Linked DNA regions of Homo sapiens: region 1 is linked to region 2. Evidence: promoter capture Hi-C in 16 types of primary human blood cells and fetal thymus (Javierre and others, 2016). All regions are on one chromosome and are shown on one strand. Each heading gives the region's core, a stretch centred on a gene start or on the middle of the fragment in contact. The rest is flanking DNA. Distances are from core to core; before and after follow the strand shown.

Region 1 (7,168 bases), core at 3,305-5,804, 530 kb before region 2:
TCTTTTCGGATCAGCCCAAACTGGGCCTTAGAATGTGTCATAGGGCCGAGTGGAGTGGCTTATGCCTGCAACCCCAGCACTTTGAGGCGCTGAGGTGGGTGGATTGCTTGAGTCCAGGAGTTCAAGACCAGCGTGGGCAACATGGTGAAACTCCATCTCTACAAAAAAATACAAAAATTAAATACAAAGATTAGCCGGGCATGGTGGCATGTGCCTGTGGTCCCAGCTACTTTCCTGGCTGAGGGGGGAGAATCACCTAAGCCCAGGAGGTCAAGGCTGCAACCTAGGCCACAGTCTTGAACTCCTGGCCTCAAGTGCCCACCTCAGCCTCCCAAAGTGCTGGAAATACAGGAGTGAGCCACCGCGCCCGGCCTGGTCTCTTTTTTTCTATCTCTCTATTTATTATTTCTCTCTAAATCCCTCTAAACTCTGTTCATTACTATTTCTATTTCTATTCCTGTGTAAGTCTCCTGGTGATGAATTATCTTCGCTTTTGTTCATACCAAAGTGTCTTAATTTGCCTTCATTCTTTTTCCCAATGTTTTTATTATGGTAAACTACACAAACATAAAATTTACCATCTTAAATGTTTTAAAGTGTGCAGTTCAGTAGGGTTTTTTTGTTTTGTTTTCTTGAGATGGCCTCTCACTCTATTGCCCAGGCTGGAGTGCAGGGGCATGATCTTGGCTCACTGCAACCTTCCCCTCCCAGGTTTAAGCAATTCTCTTGTTTCAGTCTCCTGAGTAGCTGGGATTACAGGTGCCCACCACCACACCTAGCTAACTTTTGTATTTTTAGTAGTATTAAGTACATTCCAATTATTGGGCAACCATTGTAATCACCCAGTGGGTTCTTCCTGCCTGCTGCACAGGCAAAATCAATCCACTGAGACCATGGCATTGCAGTAAAGAAAGCATGTAACTGATGCAAGGCTAGCTATGCCATGAGCGAGACAGAGTTATTAGTCAAATCAATCTCCCAGAAGTCTCAGAGGCTAGGGTTTTTCAAGGAGTTTGGTGAGCAGGGGGCTAGGGAAGGGGGCATTCTGATTGGTTGGGGATGCCATCACAGGGTGTGGAAAACAGTCCAGTCCTGGTGTGATGAGTCGGCTTCTGGGGGAGGACCACTAGAGGTGTCGCTGGTCTGGGTGGGGCCATCCAGTAGCCAGAAATGCAAAAGCCTGGCCATGCAGGAATTACACGTATAATTCCAGCACTTTGGGAGGCTGAGGCAGGAGAATCACTTGAGGTCAGGAGTTCGAGACCAACCTGGCCGACATGGTGAAACCCCATCTCTACTAAAAACACAAAAATTAGCTGGGCGTGCTGGTGCATGCCTGTAATCCCAGCTACTCAGGAGGGTAAGATGTAAGAATTGCTTGAACCCAGGAGGTGGAGGTCACAATGAACTGAGATCACGCCACTCCACTCTAGCCAGAGTGCGACTCTGTCTCAAAAGAAAGAAAAAAGAAATGCAGAAACCTGAAAAGATATCTCAAAAGGCCAATCTTAGGTTCACAATAGTGATGATATTTACAGGAGTAATTGAGGAAGTTACACATCTTGGGACCTCCGGAGTAATGGCTGGTAATCATTTAACTATGCACATAACTTAGCAGAATTCAGGACCCTCTTACCCTCCTAACTTGGTGGTCTTTCATTAGTTTTACAAGGGAGGTTTAGTTTTGGGGGAAGGGCTACTATCATTTAAGCTATAAACTAAATTTCTCCCAAACTTAGCTTGGCCTACACCCAGGAATATGCAAAGATAGCCAGCCTATGAGGCTAAAAGCAAGATGGAGTCAGCCATGTCAGATTTCTCTTACTGTCATAATTTTGCAAAGGCAGTTTCACCATCACCACCATCCATCACCAGAACTCTTTTCATGTTGCAAAAACTCTATATCCACTAAACAATAACTCTCATTTCTCCTCCCACCAGCTCCTAGCAACCATGATTCTACTTTCTAAGATTTTGACTATGCTAAGTACCTCATACAAATGGAAGTATACAATATTTGTCTTTCTGTGACTGGCTTAATTAGCATAATGTCTTCAAGTTTTATCTGTGTTGTAGCATGTGTCAGAACTTCCTTCTTTTTTAAGGCTGAATAATATTCCATTTTATGTATACATAACATTTTGCTTATCCATTTATCTGCAACTTGAGTTGCTTCCACCTTAGAGCTATTGTGAATAATGCTGGCATGAACATGGGTGTACAAATACCTCTTCAAGACCCTACTTTCTTTTTTTTTTTTTTTTTGGAGATGGAGTCTCGCTCTGTTGCCCAGGCTGGAGTGCAATGGCGCGATCTCGGCTCACCATAACCTCTGCCTCCCGGGTTCAAGCGATTCTCCTGCCTCAGCCTCCCAAGTAGCCGGGACTACAGGCACGTGCCACCATGCCCGGCTAATTTTTGTATTTTTAGTAAAGATTGGGTTTCACTCTGTTGGCCAGGCTGGTCTCGAACACCTGACCTCATGATCCACTTGCCTCGGCCTCCCAAAATGCTGCGATTACAGGTGTGAGCCACCTTGCCTGGCCAAGACCCTACTTTCAATTCTTTTGAGAATATACCCAAAAGTGAAATTGATGAATCATATGCAAATTACATTTTTAATTTTTAATTTTTTTTTGAGATGGAGTCTTGCTCTATCACCAAGGCTGGAGTACAGTGGCATGATCTTGGCTCACTGCAACCTCCACCTCCCAGGTTCAAGAAATTCTTGTGCCTCAGCCTCCCGAGTAGCTGGGATTATAGGCATGTGCCATCATGCCCAGCTAATTTTTGTATTTTTGGTAGAGATGGGGTTTTGCCATGTTGGCCAGGCTGGACTTGAACTCCTGGCCTCAAGTGATCGGCCCACCTCAGCCTCCCAAAGTGTTGGCATTACAGGCATGAGCCACCGTGCCCAGCCCCATTTTTAATTTTTGAGGAACCACCGTAACTGTTTTCTGCAGCAGCTTCACCATTTCACATTCCCACCAACAGTGCACAAGGATTCCAATTTCTCCACATCCTCGACAATGCTTGCTATTTTCTGGAGTTTATTTATTTATATAGTTTTAAAAATGAGATGGAGTTTAGCCATGTTGTTCAGGCTGGTCTCAAACTCCTGAGCTCAAGGGATCTGCCTGCTGCAGCCTCCCAAAATGCTAGGATTACTGGCTTGAGCCACTATGTCCAATCCTGGAGTTTGTTTTGTTTAGAGTAGCCATCCTAATAGTGTGAAGTGGTATCTCACTGTAGTTTTGATTTGCAATCCCCTAATGATTAGTGATGTTCCCCTCCTTTTCTTTTCATTTTGCCTTCTTTTTTTTTTTTTTTTTGAGACGGAGTCTTGCTGTGTCGCTCAGGCTGGACTGCAGTGGCGCTATCTTGGCTCACTGAAACCTCTGTCTCCCGGGTTCAAGTGATTCTCCTGCCTCAGCCTCCCGAGTAGCTGGGATTACAGGCACCTGCCACCATGCCCAGCTAATTTTTATATTTTTAGTATAGACGGGGTTTCACCATGTTGGCCAGGCTGGTCTCAAACTCCTGACCTCAGGTGATCCACCTGCCTCGGCCTCCTAAAGTGCTGGGTTACAGGCGTGAGCTACCACACCCGGCTGCCTTCATTCTTAAAGGATGTTTTGCTGGCTATAGAATTCTGGATTGATTTACTTTTTTCTGATCCTATACTTGAAGATATTGTTTCACTGTCTTCTGATATCTATTATTTATAAGAAGAAACAGCATTCATTTGTATCATCATTCCCTGCATATAGTGAGTTGTTTTCTCTGGCTTTCAAGATTTTCTCTTTATCTTTGGTTTTCAGCATTTTGACTATACTGTGTGCAGGTATGGTTTTCTTCATATTTTTTTTTTTGGTGGGGAGAGGGTTACTTAGCTTCTTAAATCTATAAATTTATCTTTCAACCTATTTAGAAAATTTCAACCTCTTTTTCTTCAAAATAATTTTTCTGTCCCATATTCTCTTCCTTACTTCTGAGACTCCAGTTACACATATTTTAGCTCTTTTGCTATTTCCCCTCAGTTTCCTGAGAGTCTATTCATTCCCGCCCTCTCCCATCCATTTTCTGTCTGTTACTTAGATTGAGTAATTTTTATTGATTTCTCATCAAGTTTTCTGACTTTTTTCTCCTGTCACCTTCAATCTGCTTCTAAGCCTGTCCAGTAAAGCTTTAAATTTCAGATATTAAACTTTTCAATTGTATAATTTACATTTGGTTACTATAGTTTTTATTTCTCTGCTTGTATTTTCTTTCATTAATTATGAGTAATATTTTCCTTTATATATGTACTCTGTTTGGCACAATTTTAATAGCTGCTTTAAAGTCTTTGTTATAACTCAACATTTGATGCATGTCAGCATCAGACTCTTGAGTACTGGGGTCACATTTCATTTTTATGTCTAGTAATTTCAGATTGTACCTTGGATATTGTAAAAGATACCTTGTAGAAGTTTTGGATTCTGTCACATTTCTCCAAAAGGGTTTGTTTGTTTGTTGTTTTAAGTAGGCAATACATATATCCCTTTCTTCTTTTGTTTAAATGTCAATTTTAGTTTTGCCAGTTGGGTGCAGTGGCTCATGCCTGTAATCCCAGCACTTTGGTAGGTGGAGGCAGGAAAATCACTTGGGCCCAGGAGTTTGAGACCAGCCTGGGCAATGTAGACAGACATCATCTCTACAAAAAATAAGAAATTCGCTGGATATGGTGGCATGCACCTGTGATCCCAGCTACTTGGGAGGCTGAGGGAGGAGGACCCCTTGAGCCTAGGAGGTCAAAGTTGCAGTGAGCCATGATCATGCCATTGCCCTCCAGCCTGGGTGAGACCCTGTCTCTAAAAAATAATAATAATAATTTTTGTCAAAGTGAGATATACACATAATTTTAAAAAGTCTAACACAATGACAAAGCTTGTAATGACAATAGTAGAACACTATACCACCATTTCCACCCTGAAACCTGCCCCTCAGGAAGAAAAACTTTTAATTCTTTCAGCTGTTTCTTCTATTTACATCTACTTTTCTAAAAATATTTCTAAAAATATTCATATATATAGATATACACACATAATTTTCATATGTACATATATATGTATATTCATATATACACACACACTTTTTTTTTTGAGACAGGATCACTCTCTGTTGCACAGGCTGGAGGGCAGTGGCGTGATCATGGTTCACTGCGGCCTTGAACTCCTGGGTTCAAGTGATCTTCCCACCTCAACCTCCTGAGTAGCTGGGACTGCAATTGTGCACCACTATGCCTAGCTAATTTTTAATTTTTCTTTTGTAAAGACAGGGTCTCACTATGTTGAACAGGCTGGTTTCTAACTCCTGGGCTCAGGTGATCCTCCTGCCTCGGCCTTCCAAAGTGTTGGGATTACAGGCATGAACCACCATGCTTGACCTCTCATATTTTTATTTATATGTTATCTATTGACGTTCTATTATGGAGTCACAAAATTTAGCACACTTAAAACCTCCTTCCCTCTCTTCATACTCCCAATATATTTGTAGTACATTTTTGTTTATATCAATATTTATACTGTTTATATTATCTCACTATATAACACTTGCTCAATGTTAAGCCAAGTAATATAATACTGATAAGATAAATTTTTATTCATATTAGAATTAATAATTGCCCTGTGGGTTGTTTTAGCAGTTTTCTATGTAATAATTACTAGTTCAACCTTAAACTTAGCAATATAATGGTGATACCCCTCTGAATGTTGATAATTCCTATTGCCTTCAGCTATGCCTGGTATCCCTATGTTTAGATGCTGTAAGTTTCTTAACACACAGTCAGTCTTCTGCTGGAGTGGGAAAGAAGGTCCATCTGTCTTTGAAAAAGGAGTTCTGGCCGGGGCCGGTGGTTCGTGCCTGTAATCCCAGCACTTTGGGAGGCTGCGGCAGGTGGATCACTTGAGGTCAGGAGTTCGAGACCAGCCTGGCCAACATGGCAAAACCCTGTCCCTGCCAAAAATATAAAAAATTAGCCAGGTGTTGTGGTGCACACCTGTAGTCCCAGCTACACAGGAGGCTGAGGCAGGAGAATCGCTTGAACCTGGGAGGCAGAGGTTGCAGTGAGCTGAGATCACACCACTGTACTCTAGCCTGGGTAGGCAACAAAGTAAGACTCTGTCTCAAAAAAAAAAAAAAAAAAAAAAAAGAAAAGAAAAGAAAAATGGAGTTCTAGGGGTCTGAGTGAGCCATGTAAGGTTTTTCAATGGATCCTTCTCTTTTCATCTGTAACATGAATTTCTGCCTTTAGAGATACCTGGTGCCTCCAAATTCTGAGCATGTCCAAGATCCTCTGGCAATATCAGTTTTCTTCTCATTAGCATACTCTTGGTTTTAAGCTTTCATAATTTGAGTAACACTAGTAATTTCTATCTTCCAGAAATCTGCTGACATTGCTTGTCTGCACCTGTGTTCGTTCTGTGTTTTGTCCCTCCACATCCATTAGCCATATTTTTCTGCCCCGCTCCGTATCCTGAGAAGATAACACCTATGGACTTGCACTCCTTTGATTTTTGGCATCCAGTTCGATTCAGCTAACTGGAGTGACTGGAAGAAGAATGCAGAGTGGGAGGGGATAGAATAATAGATGTAAGCGCATTTATTGCCATTGCTGTGCCCCCTTTTTATGTGCCTCTTCCCTGGAGGCTGCTGTGTTGGTAGTGGCAGAAAACTTGTACCTAACTCCATGGCTCCCCTAGGGTGACTTTCTCCTATGCCTGGAGTTCTTACCAGGTTACAGTAATTATTCTTTCCACTTGCCCCTTGAGGCCTAGGGATGGTGACAGCTTCCCAGTGTTGCTAGTGCCTGGGTACTTTAGCATCTCTTTTTGGTTCTCTTAATCCTGCCCACACCTCTGTAAATAGTTTCCTCATTAAATTTTCTTCATTTCTCCTTTGAGCATGCCAATCTGTTTCCTGCCAGAACTCTAACTGCTATGTTGCTGTTCACGTTCCCCCTTTACTATGTTTATTCATTTCAAAAATTTTATTCTCATTTTAGCAGAGTTTCTGGAGGCAACAGAAATAAGTGTCATATGCTCAATCTGATGCGTTTAATTATTGAATATCCTTTTCTCCACTATCCCTATGCATAAGTATTTGACTCTACTTTCTTTTTCTTTCTTTT
Region 2 (7,440 bases), core at 2,696-5,195:
TCCTTTTCCCTGGAAGCTCCAGGAGCCTCAAAATAAGCTCCTTGTCCACCTGAGGAGATGGAGCTAGAGAGACCAGTCATCCTCAGACCTCAGACCTTAGAACCTGGGATGCCTGGGCATGGTGGCTCACGCCTGTAATCCCAGCACTTTGGGAGGCCGAGGCGGGCGGATTATGAGGTCAAGAGATCGAGACTATCCTGGCCAACATGGTGAAACCTTGTCTCTACTAAAAATACAAAAATTAGCCAGGCGTGGAGGCGCGTGCCTGTCATCGCAGCTACTCAGGAGGCTAAGGCAGAAGAATAGCTTGAACCTGGGAGGCGGAGGTTGCAGTGAGCTGAGATCGCGCCATTGCACTCCAGCCTGGCAACAAAGCAAGACTCCGTCTCAAAAAAAAAAAGAACCTGGGACTGGCTAATGCATGGCCTGAAGAGATATGACTGGTGTTTCCACCTAGTCAATGACCAGAAACTCACAGCCCCCTCTACAGAGATTTGGGGTGGGGACGGCAGGGCAGCACATAGCCACTGTCTCCAGGAGGTGGGGTGGGAAGCAAAGCTCCTGCTCTCAGGCAGCTCTCAGTGCTCCAAGGAACATACACAAATGAGCCCTGGGCTGGGGGTCAATGCCTGGGCTCCCGTCCTGTTTCTGCCACCAAAGTGCTGGGTGACAGTGAACCAGTTATCACTCATCTCTGTTTCCTCCTCTGTAAAATGGGTAGTCTGGGCTAGATGCCCTGCCAGGCCCTGCCTATGTTAACATCCTCTACCCATTTCTAGAACAAATCAGCAGGATGAGACATGAGTGGAGAAATCAGCAGAGGAGTGGAAGATTCTGTCTGTCCACCCTGGGCCTGCACATAGCACCTGGTCTCCAGGACCCAGGCACTGACCTCCATGGCTGCTAGAGGCTCACGTCAGTCAGCAAGGATTCTGGGCACGCCCTGCCTCTCCTGACACCCAGAAGGTCACCGCTTCAGAGCTGACTCTACCCCAGCCCCACTAACCACAGAACAGAGCTGGCGTGGGAGTTAAGACATCTCTACCAGACAGAGCACTGCAGGGGCAGGAAGTGGGGGAGCCTCTCTTGACCATCATTGGCACGAGGCTGGCAGGCTGGGCACCAAACCCAGATGCAGACATCTCCGCCTCATTCTCTGGTCACCGGCTTGCTGGCTCCCCAGGGACACACACTGCCTACTGTCCCTCAGGTCCCCTGGTCTCTGCAGCCCCTGAGGGCCTGGCACTTGGTGGGAACACAATACTATAATAGTTAAGCTGAGGCCGAAATTCCACCCCTTCCAGTAGAAAGCGTGCTCCAGGACCAGCAGAATGCGTGCTTTAGGACCAGGAGACCCTACGTCACAGTGGCCGGCATGACTGTCCCCATTTGCATCCCCACACCACACCTTCAGTGGGGAGACCACCATTCTCCACTTCATAGAACTCCCCAGGCACCCCGAGCTCCCGGAGGCAGGAAATATGACAACTGCGTCTTCCCTCTGTGCAGCCCTTCACGTATCCTAATGCGCTTTCCCCCACATCTCCTGCAATCCTGACAACAACCGTGTCATGCAGGCAGAGCGGACGTTATCCCCATTTGACAAAGGGGCACTGAGTCCACACAGCTAGTCAGTGCTGGGGAGAGATGGGAATCAAGGAGCCCTCTTCCCAAGGGAGGTCCTCCTTGCCAGGGTCACTGACAGGGAATGGCCAGGACAATGCTGCCTCAAGACCAGCCCTGGGTGGGCCTTCCTGTCACACACTTAGACTGGGCACAGGTGAAGAGTGGCCCTGAGGCCCAATGCCCTGACATCCTCCTTTCCCTGGGGCCAAGCACAGGCAGACTCCGGGTAATGGCACAGGGGTGAAAAGGCAGGGACTAGGGAGAGAGGTGAGAGCCCCGGAGGCCCCCAGGACACATTTTGACTCAAAGGCAAAGCAAACAGCAACTCCAACAGGTCCCAAGTTGGTGAGAGCTGCAGGAGAGGACGCTGTGGGGGGACAGTGGGCAGGACTCACCTCCCGCAGCAGCTGCATCCCCTTGAGCTCCTCCTGCTGCTGCTGGGCCACGGTGACCCCCAGGACCAACGTGTGCACCACACAGGAGACCACGGAGATGATCACGATGGGGCTGAGGCTGAGGGGCAGCGTGATGAAGAAGGAGAAGACAAAGAAGACCTGCCAGCCCACCGTGTCACTAGCCGCGTGGGCACGCGCGAAGTTCAGGCCCAGGTAGGAGAAGATCTGGGCGGTTATGAGCAGCCACAGCACGTAGGGCAGCACTCTGCGGGTGACCCGGTCCGGGAGCAGCCCCTTTTTGCAGAGCACGAAGAGGATGATGTCCAACACCAGTCCAATTCCAGCCACGGCGAGGGAAGCCAGCTTGTCGCTGGAGAAGACCACAGCACACATGACCACCACGTAGCAGTCAAAGAGGGCTGCAAAGACCACCAGCACCAGCAGGGTCTCGTGGCGCTGCCTTTTGAAGTAGGTCTGGTAGAGGTTCTCCAAGGACTCCGGCACGAAAGTCAGCCGCATGAAGCGAGGCAGGCACAGGCAGGAGCCCGAGTTCCGGACCGAGATTTCATGGGTCCGGCCCACCCCGCGGTCAGGGTCGGAGGGCAGGCTGACGGAGTACTCGGCTGAGTACTCGGCCGAGTATTCGGGCTCGGAGAAGCCCTGGTTCCTCGGCATACTGGCTGGTGTCTGCTACTGGCCCTAGAGAAGTGGACTGGGAACGGAGGAAGAGCTCTGGACTGGGCCTCCTCTCAGGGCTCTCTGAGACCGGGGGAGGGCTGAGGGCCTCTTCTTGTCTGGGGCGGAGGGGAGGCCACCTCCAGCAGGAACGCAGAGCGGGTTTCCAGAGCACAGGTAGCACTGATCAGCTAGAACTGAAAAGGGCATTGCTGAGTAGAAGCACCTCTTCCCTCCTACCTTGCGGTTTCCCCATGACCCGCCCTAACCCTCATAAAAGGATCTCTGCTGCAAGAGCCTCCCAACCCAGGGCCTTCCCTGCCACCCCCGGCTCACACCACCGCCCACCGCAGGCACACTTAGTCCTGTCCACGCCAGACACTCAATTTCCTGTCCCTGGCTTGTGGAAGGGCCTAGCCGCCTTTCCATCCCTGGTAACCGGTTTCTCTCTGTCATCTCTTCTTTCTCAGTCCCCGACTTCCTCACCTAAATTCCCTCCAGGCCCAGTCCTTAGAAGCTGTAAATAAAATGTGCCGGAAAGAAATCAGGACCATCGTGGGGGATTCCTGAGCCTTCCTTCTGTTTACTTCCTTTTTCCACCAAACCCTTGGAGGCTCGGGCTCCGATCCGGCCCCCTTCCCACGCTCGGGGCGCTGTCTTCCCCCCCGGAAGCCTGGCCCTGCCCCTGCGTTTACCTGTGCGGGAACTCGGCCACCGCGTGCTCCGGGACGGTCCCCGCGCGGGCTGGGGCGGGAGAGCTCGGCGCGCCCGAGGGCTGCTCCCCGCAGAGCCGCGCCGCCCCGGCAGCGCCTCGGGGCCCGGCCGGAGCGCGATCTCCCGCCGTCAGGCCCGGGATCCGACCGGGAGAGGCGCAGGGCTGCCCCTCAGCATCCGCGGGCGCCCGGCCGCAGGGGGAAGGAGGAGGCGGCGACGAGGGCTGGGAGATCCGTGGGCGCCGGCCCAGCGCGCCCGCCCTGGGGCTGAGGCTCAGGGGCAGGGGCCGTGCGGGGGCCGGCAGGCGCGGGCGGCGGCGAGCGCGGCTCTCCGGACCCCTCCCCTGCACCCGCGGCGGCGGCGGCTGCTAGGGGCGCGCGCGGGGCCCTCCCCGGCGGGAGCGCGGGCCGAGCCCGGGGAAGCCCGCCAGCATCCTCTCGCCCGCCCGCGCCGAGCCGAGCCAGCCGAGTCCGGGCTCGGCGTGCTGCACAGCTATTCCCCGCGCGGCGCCGGCGGCTCCGGGGCCACGCGCGCTCCAGGCCCCGGGAGGCGGGAGGCGGGAGGCGGGAGGCGGGCGGGGCGGCCCCTCCCTCGCCCCAGTCTCCGCCCTCTCGGCGGCGCGTTCCGGAGTGGGGCGGCGAGGGAGGCGCCGGGCGGCGGTCCCAGGACCCGCGCGGGCGAGAGGTGGAGGGGCCCGGGCGGCCCCCGATCCGGCGCGGGCGGCGGGCTGGGGCGATGGCTGCGTGGAAGCGCGGGCGCGGGCGCGGGCGTGGGCGGTGGGCGGTGGGCGGCAGGGCTGGGGCGAATCCACCCCTTCCAGCGAGGAGGCCCGGTCTAGGAGGATGGAAGCCCGGGACGCGCCCGCCCGCAGGTGAGGCGCGCTCGGGGCACCCCGCCGCCCCCTCCTCCGCCGCGGCTTCCTTCCGGGCCGGCAGAGGCCAGGGCTCAGGTTTGGGGACCGCTCCGCCGCGGGGCACGTGGGGCCTAAGTATCCCCGCCCACCCCGGGAGCCCAGACTCCGGAGCGCCGGGCCTGAGCTTTCCGCAGAGGGGCTCGGCAGCGGAGCCCTGTCCTGCTCCCAGGAGGCGGGTGGCGGTGGCCCGGTGGGCACTACACACGTGGAACTGGAAGAGTTCCTGAGACCCTGCTTCGAAGAGATTTCCCGTGCACATTCTACCCGTTTGAGATGTGTTTGAGTTCACAAACTGTCCCTTAAAGATGCGAATGCTCCTTTGAATAGTTAAACCTATCAGTCTCTTACACCATAGTATAAATTATTTTCCTTGCATTTGACAGAACACCGTGCTAAGATCAACTACAGGCTTTGGGAATTTAAATAAAGGAAGAGGAAAGAGATAGAATGTTTTGGGACAAAAGGGACAAAAGCATGTGTGGGAAGGTAAGTGCTGAGGACAGCCAGCAGCAATAGGGGGTCATCTCCCCTGGGGAGAGCTGAAGGAATGAACAGAGGGGAGAGAAACTTGGCTATCCAGACCCTGGATGGAGCTGCCACCCCATGCCCCTGAGAGTTATCCGCGGGCACCCCTTCCAGAACCTCAGGCATCACCTTGCATCCCTCGGGGAATGGATCCATTAGAGAATCGATCCTGCCACTGCTGTTTCTACCGTTCCCTCACACTCTGTCTGAAAAGGCGCCACCTTCAGCCCATACTTCGCAGGGCTTTGATTCCAAAGGTAGGGGACCTAACATCAGATATAGGAGTTTGGTAATTTAAATAAAGCAAAACTTTGCCCCATTGTTTTATTTTATTTCTATTTTTTATTTTTTCGAGACTGAGTCTCACTCTGTCACCCAGGCTGGAGTGCAGTGTTGTGATCTCAGCTCACTGCAACCTCCACCACCCAGGTTCACGCAATTCTCCTGCCTCAGCCTCCTGAATACCTGGGATTGCAGGCACACACCACCAAGCCCGGGGTAATTTTTGTATTTTTAGTAGATGGGGTTTCACTATGTTGGCTAGGCTGGTCTTGAACTCCTGACCTCAAGTGATCCGCCCACCTCAGCCTCCCAAAGTGCTGGGATTACAGGGATGAGCCACTGCTCTGGGCTGCCCCATTGTTTTAATTTGCTGGAGGTTTTTGGGTTTTGGGGGGGATTTTTTTTGGAGGGAGTTATTTGTGGTTTGTTTTTTGTTTTTGTTTTTTAAAAAGGAAGGCATTTATTTATTTATTTATGAGACAGAGTCTCACTCTGTCGCCCAGGCTGGAGTGCAGTGGCCATCTCAGCTCACTGCAACCTCCGCCTCCTGGGTTCAAGCAGTTCTCCTGCCTCAGCCTCCCAAGTAGCTGGGATTATAGGCACCTGCCACCATGCCTGGCTAAATTTTGTATTTTTAGTAGAGACAGGGTTTCATCATGTTGGCCAGGTTGGTCTCGAACTCCTGACCTCAAGTGATCTGCCTGCCTCAGCCTCCCAAAGTGTTGGGAATACAGGTGTGAGCCATCATGCCTGGACTTTGCTGGAGGTTTAAACATTTATTTTGAATTGTCACATGATGTTAAAGAGGACATGACTTTTATGTTTTACAAAGGGAGATGTAATGTACGGCAAGGCGCAGTGGCTCATGCCTGTAATCCCAGCTCTTTGGGAGGCCGAGGCAGGCAGATCACTTGAGGTCAGGAGTTCGAGACCAGCCTGGCTGACATGGCAAAACCCTGTCTCTACCAAAAAATACAAAAATTAGCCGAGCGTGGTGGCGGGTGCCTGAAGTCCCAGCTGCTCAGGAGACTGAGGTGGGAGAATCGCCTGACCCTAGGAGGCAGAGGTTGCAGTGAGCCAAGATCGTACCACTGCACTCCAGCCTGGGCAACAGAATGAGACCCTATCTCAAAAAAAAGTGGGGGTTGGGGGAGAGATGTGCTAATGTTTTTTAAAAGGCTGATAAATCTTGTGCTTGGTCCTGCTTTGGCACAAGAGACACCATGTTGCACCCTCTGTGGGTCCCTTCCCCTTCCTTGGCATACATGCCAGCCCTGTGATTCTCAGTGTGGCACCCTGTCCGCAAGGCCATGCCCAGCTCCTAAGCTGAGAGGGTTCTCTGCTGGGCCCTCTGCCACCACTCATGCCCCAGCCTCCCACCCCATGAAGGGAGAGAGTTCCACACAGAGGCACCCTCATATAAAAAGAACAACAACAAATTGATCCCTGCCTCTCCAGCCCCTGCCTGCTGGCTTCACTGTCCCACTCCCTGTTCTTCCACCATCCCTATCTCTCCTCTGTGGGCCCCTGTTCAGCGGGCACTGGGGAAACCAGAGGAGCCTTATAGTTCTGCCAAGGCACCATGTTGACTCATGAGGCAGACCCTCAGGTGTACACAGGTTACAGTTGGGGGTGACTTCTGGCTGAGGTGATCAGAGACAGGGCCTTTCAGGGCAAGAGGGAAGGATCTGATGGGCCTGAAAGGCAGGCGTTCCAGGTGGCTGGAGCCTCCCTGCAAAGGCCCAGCCGCAGGAAGAGCACAGCACATTCCCATCCCTGCTCCGCGTTCAGGGTTCTGGCACGGCCTTTCCCTGTGGATATGGGAAACGCAGTGGGACAGCAGTAGGCCCTTGCGAGGACTCCCGGGGAGCCAGAAGCATCTGGGTGAATATTCCTGGGCAAGAGAGCTGCTTGACATCCTGCCACAGAGGAGATCAGGGAAAATGCCGCGAGGGCCTCATCCATCTCACTCACAGTGGCTTCCCCAGTACCTGGCACCTAGTAGATACTCAAAAAATAGTCATTGAATGAATGGAAGTCTCCCTAAGAAGAAATGGTACTTTATAAAGGCACTGGCTGTCCTTGAAGGGACCAGCTGGCCTCATTCCCTGATACTGAGAATGTCCTGGTCCCAGGGCAATGAAAAATATCCACCCTCGAGTGAAAAGGGTGGGATTATGGGGGAGCTGTTTTCACTTTCCAAGCTATACATTTTGTATTGATGTAACCTGGACAACTGGCATGCTTCGCTTTTATAATCAAATGATACAGGAAATCTATACACACACAACTCAGGACCTCAAATGGCTG

What was found. The method cuts DNA at HindIII sites, captures the fragments that hold promoters and counts their contacts. A CHiCAGO score of 5 or more calls a contact.
Region 1: a fragment that was not itself captured here is called in contact with the fragment with the promoter of ADCY3 in region 2 in 2 of 17 cell types (erythroblasts and megakaryocytes); the score reaches 5.5 in erythroblasts.

Annotation. Positions count from the first base shown.
Region 1 is chr2:24,386,310-24,393,477 of GRCh38, forward strand. No RefSeq gene overlaps it. Among named protein-coding and RNA genes, the nearest start is that of ITSN2, 29 kb to the left of the region's middle. The HindIII fragment of the contact is 740 bases long and covers 4,185-4,924 here.
Region 2 is chr2:24,916,292-24,923,731 of GRCh38, forward strand. ADCY3 (adenylate cyclase 3) reads right to left here and starts at 3,946. Exons shown (of 22, transcript NM_004036.5): 1 at 3,392-3,946; 2 at 2,022-2,893. The coding sequence starts at 2,696. LOC124907742 (a long non-coding RNA gene) reads left to right here and starts at 4,053. Exons shown (of 2, transcript XR_007086246.1): 1 at 4,053-4,281; 2 at 4,707-5,167. RefSeq lists an enhancer at 679-928 and silencers at 3,331-4,060, 4,091-4,150, 4,191-4,400, 4,411-4,500. The HindIII fragment of the contact is 7,828 bases long and covers 1-7,440 here.